Regions from separate parts of the Homo sapiens genome. Here regions 1 and 2 are each linked to region 3. The links are contacts of gene promoters, found by promoter capture Hi-C in blood cells and fetal thymus (Javierre and others, 2016). All regions are on one chromosome and are shown on one strand. The core of a region is centred on a gene start or on the middle of the fragment in contact, and the rest is flanking DNA. Distances in the headings are between cores, read along the strand shown.

Region 1 (3,105 bases), core at 453-2,952, 970 kb before region 3:
AGAGAGAGGGATGAAATCAGTGGGTTCTCGGGCTTTTGCAGCCCTCGATCTCCTGTGACAGACAAGAGCCTCTCTGCTGCTGCTACAGTTGTCACAGTGGAAACCCCTTCCCCAAAAGGCAAGTTGTCACCAGCCTAGCTGCCTGCATGGGGGCCTGGGTGACGAATGTCTTGCAATTATTCTTCAGTTGATGCCAGAAACAAAAAGTATATACCCCACACCAGTCCCCAGGACCCCTCTTAGCAGGGTGAGTCTTGGGGAATGCAGGCTCTGGGCCCATCTCTTACCACATGCCCTTCACCCACCCCACCCCTATTTCCCTGCAGATGAACCAAATTAAACTGAACAGCCTCAAAGGGAGAGGTTGCCAAAAGACAGTCTGAGGGGAAATGGGAAGAAGCAATCCCCCATTCTGCTTTAGGGCTGGGGACAAAAGGGTTCCTTCTTCCTTGAATACTGTTAACCACAGGCCTTTTGGGGGCCCTGCTGGAGGAGACATCCCATGGGCTCTCCCCTAAATCACATGAGATGACTCATCTCCACCCACATCAGCCACCCTGCTTTCCACACTGTAGAAACTTCTCTGTTCTTCCCAGACAACTGAATGCCAATATTTCTTAAGTTTCTTTCCTGCCAATAAATTCTGTTTTGTTCCAGGGGAAACAGGGTTCTACCATAAATGCTTTATTTGTGTGTGGTATTTACGGTGTTCGTCCACCTGTATATGGTCAGTGCTTTCCTTTTCACATCCAGCCAGCCATCCTGGGTCTTCCTGCAGGACGGACAGTCCAGAGACACTGAAACAGGCCCGTGCAGGGGATGGAGAGGATGTCCCCTGGCACTAAGACAGACCGCATTTGACCCCACTGTTCTCTGTCAGTCAATGGGGAAGGCACGTTTTAACAAGAACGGGGGTCCCTCTCAGGTTCTTTGAGGTGCCACCACTCCTGCTCTACCCACAAACCTAACACCTGCTCAATATCATGCCCATAAGCTATGAACACTGGGGACTAATCGAGAAGAGAGGTGAAGGGGAAACTGAGGCAAGGGCCAAGGCCAGGCCAGTGGGTATTGCTGCTTCCAAGGCAGCTGGGGAGGAGAGATTCCATTTCCTGAGCTAAGCTTGTTCCATTTCAGTTTGAACAGATGGAAATATAGTTCAATGTTTCAACATCATTTGCCTTTCTCGTGCTAAAATATTGATAAGTGCTGCCCGGGCTGATGCCCCCGCAGTTCCCAGCAGTAACTGGAGCATGATGTGTACTGAAGTGAGACATGGCAAAGCCTTTAACGAGTGTTTAAAATTCCTGGAATAATGCTCAACACTGGCTCAGCTCATTCGGCTCCTGAAAACTGCCCCCCCCCCCACCGCCCCCCTGTCGCCCCCTAATCGGCAGGAGGAGTGCGAGCACAGCCCGGCCCCCCTGCTGGTGGCAATTAGTGCGGCAGCTGCTCGTCTTCAGGACAGCAAACAATGCAGGGGGTGCCTGCATCTGCCGAGGCGGCTGAGCCAGGCAGGGAGGCTGGAGCACTGGGGAGGCAAGGACATGGGGAGCTGGCTCCTCCACCTGCAGGGGGCTGTCACACGGAACACAGACCCCAGGGAGAGGGAACACTGGGCGGGGCTGTCCAGAAAGGCAGATGAGGGAAGGGCAAGAAAAGGGGGAAGAACACCAGGTTTGGTGGCTCATGCCTGTAATCCCAACACTTTGGGAGGCCGACGTGGGTGGATCACCTGAGGTCAGGAGTTTGAGACCAGCCTGGCCAACATGGTGAAATCCCATCTCTACTAAAAAAAAAAAAAAAAAAAAAAATTAACTGGGCCTGGTGGTGTGTGCCCATAATCCCAGCTACTCAGGAGACTGAGGCAGGAAAATCATTCAAACCCAGGAGGTGGAGGTTGCAGTGAGCCGAGATCATGCCACTGCACTCCAGCCTGGGCGACAGAGCGAGACTCCATCTCAAAAAAAGAAAGAAAAGAAAAGGGAGAAGAAGGGAAAAGAGGAAGATGAAGAGGGTGGGGACTTAAGAAGGAAGGGGAGAGGAGGAAGAGAGGAAGTAGCCAGGAACAGCAAATCCCCTGGGAAGAGCTTGCCAAGCTCCGATAAGAGAATCCAATATGTGGCTGTAGAAAGGGAAAAAGGACCCTCAAGAGGGCCTCAGCCAGCGGCATCCCAGTCCTAAGACACCTCTCTGCAAGTTGCAGCCATGACAAAGGCCCCCAGACCCAGAGCTGAGAGGAAACCTACAGTGTGGACCTGGGATGTCACTTCCAAGCTTTAGAACAATCCAGGCTTCCCGGGCAAGGCTCTCCTGGGATCACAGTATCCCCCTTGTGGAGATCAAGTGGTCTAATTGTGGAATGTTAAACTTCTCACATACTTTAAGGTGCTGGGTGTTTGGTTCACAATTTTTGAAAACACTTGGCTGGGTGCGGTGGCTCATGCCTGTAATTCCAGCACTTTGGGAGGCTGAAGCGGGTGAATTACTTAAGGCCAGGAGTTCAAGACTAGTCTGGCCAACATGATGAAACCCCATCTCTACTAAAAATACAGAAATTAGCCAGGCATGGTGGTGGGCACACTAGTCCCAGCTACTTGGGAGGCTGAGGCAGGAGGATCACTTTAACCCGGGAAGTGGAGGTTGCAGTAAGCCAAGATCATGCCACTGCACTCCAGCCTGGGTGACAGAAAGATAATCCAACTCAGAAAAGAAAGAAAGAAAGAAAGAAAGAAAGAAAGAAAGAAAGAAAGAAAGAAAGAAAGAAAGAAAGAAAGAAAGAAAGAAAGAAAGAAAGAGAAAGAAAGAAGGAAAGAAAAAGAAAGAAAGAAAGAAAACTCTTTATAGATCTTTGTGAGATTGTTCAGAATAATGTTTTCCAGAAGGCCTATTTGAATCAAGAAGACAATGTCGGCTTTTTTCAACAGTGACCAGACTGTGAGAGAAAGCAAGGCTGTGCCCCAGAAAGCTGTGGGGTAGCCCCACTGGAAGGAATTCCAGGCTGGTGGGTGTATGGGACTTAAGTCAGTAGAACTCAGAGCCACTAACCGAAAGTATAAGCATTATTATTATACATGATTGTAGATTGATTGATTAACATTTACA
Region 2 (3,212 bases), core at 45-2,544, 780 kb before region 3:
CAGCTTCTACCTTTCTCACATTGGTAGGCTGCAAACCATCAAAAAGTAGAATTTCATATACAAAGCCGAGTCCTTATTCTAGATTGCACAGGTGATGCCCAGACAACAAGCCAACATTTTCAGATCCCACCGCCCAGCTTTCACCATGGACCTGGCCTGGGATGGTGCGGCCTCGGTGCCCACCGGGAAGGCAGAGTGGCCCAGCGTGGGCGGCAGAGGTGAGGGAGGGAACGCTGCTCTGAGGCCTTTTTCTTGTAGCTCCAGACAAATTAAAAACCTCCTTACCAGCCATTCATTCTGAGGAGGCCTCTTCCTTCCTCCACAGGGGGGCTGCTGTGTTGGAAGCCGATCGGATTCAGGGAGGCTGGGCCTCCCGGAGCTCTCAAGGAGGGGGAGCGGCAAGAATGGAAAGAGAGAGGCCCTAACCCTGAAGAGATTGGCAGGCAGGGAGTGGGGGCAAAGTGCAGCCCAGGTCACTGGGAAAAAAGAAATCTCAAAGTAAGGGAGTGGGGGAAAGTTCCACTTTCAGCCTAATTATGAAAGAGGCCTCGGTAGAGAGGGGCGGGGGAGCCCAAAGAAGAGAGAAAAGGGAAGTGAGATGTTGCAGAGAGCAGAAAGAGATTCTCAGGGGGCACAGGCTATTGAAGGAACGCAGGCAGGGAAAGGTGCCGCCTCTTCAAACGTGGGTCTGTTATAACTGATTTTGAGAGACCTGGAAGCATGTTCGCCTGGGACTCCCAAAGAGGGAGGGCAAAATGCCCTATTAAGGGTGGGACGAATTGATTTCCCAAAGAAGCACAGCACCATTTCCTCCAAATGCCCTCTGCAGTCCTCCTTAATCTGCCCTGGAGGCAGCAGGTGACCTCTGCACAGGCCCCTGGAGGCGCCTTTGTTCGGGGGCATTCTGCGGCCCGCCCCGCCCCCTCCCCTTGCACCTGGGCAGCAGCCTCAAAATGCACTTGTCCACCCTTGGCCGGCTCCCGTGGTGGGATGGCGGATGCCTTTGTATGTGAAAAGCCACGAGCCCTCCAACTCCTGTTTTCCCTTCGGCTTGACACATTCACTAATGTATTTCCTGTTCACTCCCAGGAGAAAAAAAGAGTGCCTGCAATACTTTATCTGGTAAGACAAGTCTGTGACTGAGACTACCAAGCGGGCCAACCCTTGCTGTTCCTGGGAGAGCCACTGCCATTCAGAAAGCTTGGCTCTGCCCTCGAATCCCCAAGTGTTCCCTGCCGGGTTCTAATCCAAGCCCTCTGAGGTTTGCTAATTTAATTGTGTAATGGTCCACACCTGAGACATTCCCTGAACTATCTTTAGGACACTACTTAGCCTAAAAGAAAGACAAATAAGAGTATTAAGACAGGGACTTAGACATTGAAAGCTTTTACCATCTCCAAAACATCTGAGTCAAGCAGAAGAAAACGGGGTGGGAGGATGAGGGGTGGCCTCAAAGTCAGAACAAGCAACAAGAAGTAAATAAAGTTCTTGCTAAGTGAGTCTGAAATATGTATTTAGCCCTTGTAAATTAAATAACACTGGTTTTTAAAGAGTGATTCTCCGAACATCTATTATTCACATCAGTAGGACAGACGGTAAGCCACTGTAAGATTTATAGAAACTAAAAGACTTCCCATGCTAAAGGTTAATGAAAGTGTAATTTGAATCATGAAATCTTTATGTGTCGGCTCAATTTACACCGAGGGCTCATTAAGGATGCGTTTGGTACAGCGGGCGGCAGGTGACGTCACATTAGTATTTAAATGGGCGGGGCCAGGCTGCTCTGCATGTAATCCTTTAAAAATATAACAGCCTCTCTCTTTCCTTCTCTGTCTCTCCAGCTGTAACAACTTCACCAACTGTCTGGGTTCCACCCCGAGGATTTCACTGAGAGAACACGTTAGAGGGAATCAGGAAGCAGAAAAAAGGTCACAAATAAGCACCTCAGGAACAATGAAAGCTTTTCTCTATGCAGCAGTGGGAGAGTTGCTAGAAAAACTGGAAAGGTATTAATCAGAAGTGGCTATAAATGCTCTGGAGTTTTGCTCTTATAAAACTCCTCAGAGAAAGTCTTGAAGGAAATGCAGGTCAAAGCCCAAAAAAGCTCTTGATCAGAGATTGCTGGAGGAAAATCTTCCCAGACGCCGTTTAATAGGCAGCAATCACCCCAGGAGTGGGGAAGCCAAGTACGCTTGAAACATGGTTGCAATTCCTAATAGGTCTTGTCACACTTAAGGCACTGCAAGCTCCATCCAACGAACAGCTGAAGCTAGCTGGCGATTCATAAAGCCAACAGTTTAAAGTTTATTATGATGAAAGCACTTAATGACAGCCATCGCTAGGGGCCCATCATTTATAAAGCTGTGCTGAGTATTAGACATGTAGCATGACCACCAATTTTATGTCACAATTGCTACCATAAAATGACCTTTGGTGATTTTTGCTGCATGTGGTGGACAGCTCTTCCTTCACATTAGTGCTCTGTGGCTTTCTTTGCAGACTATTATGCTGTCTAAAGCTTATTTGGCACTGTCGTGAGCCTCAACCCTTGCTATTACCCCGAAGGCCTGTCTTAAAAAAAAAAATCTCATGCTCTATTACGCCACTCCAATAATTTACAGTTCTTACCAGCCTTGGTTAGCGTAATATTTTAATGCAAATATGCTTTACCATTGGATTTTATTTTAAGCACACACACACACACACACACACACACACACAATTTCCCATGCTTCTGGCTAGCAAAATATCCATTTTATGGGAGTTCACTGAAATCGGCCTCTTATTCTCTGGTCAGGTCTCACTGATTGAGCACTGTTTCCTCTGGGTCAGTTAAAACATCACCAGAAAAAAAAAAAAAAAAAAAGGGTTACTTAAACTTCTGTTGAGATTTTTTTTTTTAAGATCCTATACATGATAAACCCACTTAAGGCAGAAACACCAATTCTTATTTCCCTGCATCCAGTCGCAATGCAAATTGACATTTGAGTAACATTATTTAATTAGGCTTCCATTTTTCCACCTTCTTTGTGTAGTTAGGAAATGTTTGAATACATGCCAGTTTACTGCTCCAATGTAAACTGCTGCTAAGAAAGTGGTCTGTCCACGCTACACCACCTTTAAATTGTGTATATAATTTTATAAATGATATAAAATCTGCTTCTAGCCCTGAGGAAAAAACAAACCATAAGCATGGCACACTGCAATTTTGG
Region 3 (2,925 bases), core at 368-2,867:
TGCTGTATTCCTAGGATTTCAAATAGTGTATGGCACTGGATATGTATTCAATAAATACGTGTTGAATAGGTGAATAACTTGTATTCCCAGTGCTCAGTAATATAACCCAGAGTCAATCAATTCACCTTGTTTCTTTTGGGGGCTTGGAGCGGGTGTCTTCGTTCCCTCATCTCTCAAAGGAGAGGTGAGCTAGGTCATCTCAAAATAGACATTAATTTAACACATATTTAATGAGACCTACTGTGTGTCTGGCACTGGGTAGGTGTATGGCCTACAATAAGAGATCACAGTCCCTACTGATAAGGAGTTCGTGGGATTAACTGATAAGGAGTCCAGTGGGATAAACAGTCACTTCGGAAATGACCGTGGGAGGGCTTCCAGAGGAAATACCCGCCGCGTTTGCCTCGTGATAGGTAGGGGACAGGCAGGTGTAGAGGGAGTGGAAGGCTGTTCTCAGCTTCCCACGTGTGCACAGGGAACCGATCCAGTCTGTAAGCCCTGTGAAGGCAGCGACGTGGTTTTTTTGTTTTGTTTTAGACAGAGTCTCGCTGTGTCACCCAGGCTGGAGTGCAATGGCGCCATCTTGGCTCACTGCAACCTCCACCTCTCGGGTTCAAGCAATTCTCCTGCCTCAGCCTCCCGAGTAGCTGAGATTACAGGCGCCCGCCACCACGCCCGGCTAATTTTTTGTATTTTTAGTACAGATGGGGTTTCACCATGTTGGCCAGGCTGGTCTCCAACTCCTGACCTCAGGTGATCCACCCGCCTCGGCCTTCCAAAGTGATGGGATTACAGGCGTGAGCCACTTCGCCAGCGATGGGTTTAACTTGCCAGTTTTCTCCCCATATTTGGCTGGAGACTCTTAATTACATTGTTCTTTTACTTCTCACATGTATATGTGCATTTACTGAAGGGAGAGGCGCGGTAGGGGTGGAGGGTTGGGGAAGAGAGTCAGTTCAATTCCAGCTTTAAAACTATAGGATTTTTGGTAGAATTCATTTATTTTCTAAAGCGAGGCCCCGCGTACGCGCTTAGGGTGGGGACCTGCGCGTTCCTTTACACTGTTCCCAGGCCCTGATAATCCACATCCTATCATGTTGAACCTGGGAGGCAAACGGCAAGGTGCAAAAGACCTCCACGGTTTCTCCGGCCCGCGTTTCTGAGAGTGAAGGGCCGTTCCTATTGGACATGGCGTCAGGGCTGAACGTTAGCAGCAACATCTGCACTCGGGGGCGGGGGAAACCTTCCCACGTCCTGGGATCTTCATAGTCGGCTCTCCTCGAGAGTTCTCGGTATTTTTACTAGTTGGCCTCCCACAAGCCTCTGCGCCAACCTGGGAGGAGTTGACCTCTTGCGGCTCTACCAACAGAGGAGTGCAGGGGTGCAGCGAATGAACACGATGCCCAGATCGGAGACGGAAGACGGAAAAGAAAAGCTTCGATAATGAATCAAGCAACATCGTTTATGTAAATATTACATTGGGTCTTCTGTCCTCGGAGAAGTGCGGTTTTCCATCTTCCAACCTAAAACAATCCGTCGCTCCCCCCACATTTGGCACGCCCGGCAGTTGGTCTCTGCCGCGCCAGGCTACCCTGCGGTCACATGCTCCTCCTGTCCTTCTGGCGGAGCGTGCTTCCCGCTGCGGGGACGTTCGAGCAATGGCAGCCCTGCTGAGATCCGCGCGTTGGTTGCTGCGTGCCGGGGCGGCCCCGCGCCTCCCGCTCTCCCTGCGCCTCCTCCCTGGCGGCCCGGGCCGGCTGCATGCCGCCTCCTATCTGCCCGCCGCTCGCGCCGGGCCCGTGGCCGGGTGAGTGCCCAGGCCCTTTCTCCAGGCAAGCTGCGGCGCCAGGGTCCCCCGGGGTCGTGGGTGCCGGCAGGGACCGGGTCCTGCCTGTGCTCGCCACCCTTCTCCCCGCCCCAGGACCTAGCCTCCCCGGGCTCCGCACCACGCTCCCTACCAGGGGTTTTCGGGTGACAGGGTTAAGCGCCTTCAGAAGGTCACGGCTGTGGGCATGGCCTGCCTCCGGCTTGAATCCTGCCCCCGCCACTTCAGCCTGGACCTTACTGCCCTCGGGGTACCCATGGTCAACGAAGATGAGGGGGGCTTTGAAGACTGCTTTGGGAAGTCGGGTGGTGGTCTTTTCCTTACACTTGGCCAGCTTGGGTGGTGTCCCACGTGCGGTCACCGTTGGTGATCAGTAACCACCTAGCATTTAGATATTGGAAATTTAGCTTTTTGCGAGGGATGGGGCGGCGAGGAGTGGGTTGGGAGTTTGGGTGAGCCACGGATGACTTAAAGCTGGACGCTGGATTATGATCACTTTGGGCTTTTGCCTGCGTTCTCTTGAATGGAGTTTTCCTTCAGCATTTAAGAAGGTGTTGCGCGAGTTGGGCTGGAGTGCAGTGGCGCGATCTCAGCTCACTGCAACTTCCGCTTCCCGGGTTCAAGCGATTCTCCTGCCTCAGCCTCCCGAGTAGCTGGGATTACAGGTGTGCGCCACCATGCCAGGCTAACTTTTGTACTTTTAGTAGAGACTGGGTTTCACCATGTTGGCCACGCTAGTCTCGAACTCCTGACTTCAAGCGATCCTCCTGCCTCGGCCTCCCAAAGTGCTGGGATTACAGGTGTGAGCCACCGCTCCCGTCCTGTAAGTGTCTTTGAATGAATGAGCACATGCAAGGCACTCTGTTGGAATCTGGGGATGCAAAGGCAAGTTAAACTCTAAGTGGGTGTCAGATAGGCGAATAAATGCTCTCATGGTTTGAGGTTTATCAGAGATAGGTTTGGTATAGACTTTTGTAGTGGAGGGGAAAAGAAAAGTTGGTGAAAGTGTTCATTTGGTTATTAATAGTATTCTGACCACCAGAGAAGGGGAGATAGGTGCTGAGCTTTTAGCATTGGAGAAAAAATGATTTTGAAAGACT

The links. The method cuts DNA at HindIII sites, captures the fragments that hold promoters and counts their contacts. A CHiCAGO score of 5 or more calls a contact.
Region 1: a contact is called between a fragment that was not itself captured here and the fragment with the promoter of LRPPRC in region 3, in 1 of 17 cell types (M0 macrophages). The highest score is 5.7, in M0 macrophages.
Region 2: a contact is called between a fragment that was not itself captured here and the fragment with the promoter of LRPPRC in region 3, in 1 of 17 cell types (total B cells). The highest score is 6.3, in total B cells.

The regions. Positions count from the first base shown.
Region 1 is chr2:44,963,305-44,966,409 of GRCh38, reverse strand. No RefSeq gene overlaps it. Among named protein-coding and RNA genes, the nearest start is that of SIX3-AS1, 23 kb to the right of the region's middle. The HindIII fragment of the contact is 1,155 bases long and covers 1,125-2,279 here.
Region 2 is chr2:44,776,251-44,779,462 of GRCh38, reverse strand. No RefSeq gene overlaps it. Among named protein-coding and RNA genes, the nearest start is that of LINC01833, 160 kb to the left of the region's middle. The HindIII fragment of the contact is 184 bases long and covers 1,203-1,386 here.
Region 3 is chr2:43,994,681-43,997,605 of GRCh38, reverse strand. It overlaps LRPPRC (leucine rich pentatricopeptide repeat containing), which reads left to right and starts at 1,617. Exons shown (of 38, transcript NM_133259.4): 1 at 1,617-1,807. The coding sequence starts at 1,659. RefSeq lists enhancers at 1,340-1,619, 1,415-2,066 and a silencer at 1,720-2,039. The HindIII fragment of the contact is 4,663 bases long and covers 1,438-2,925 here.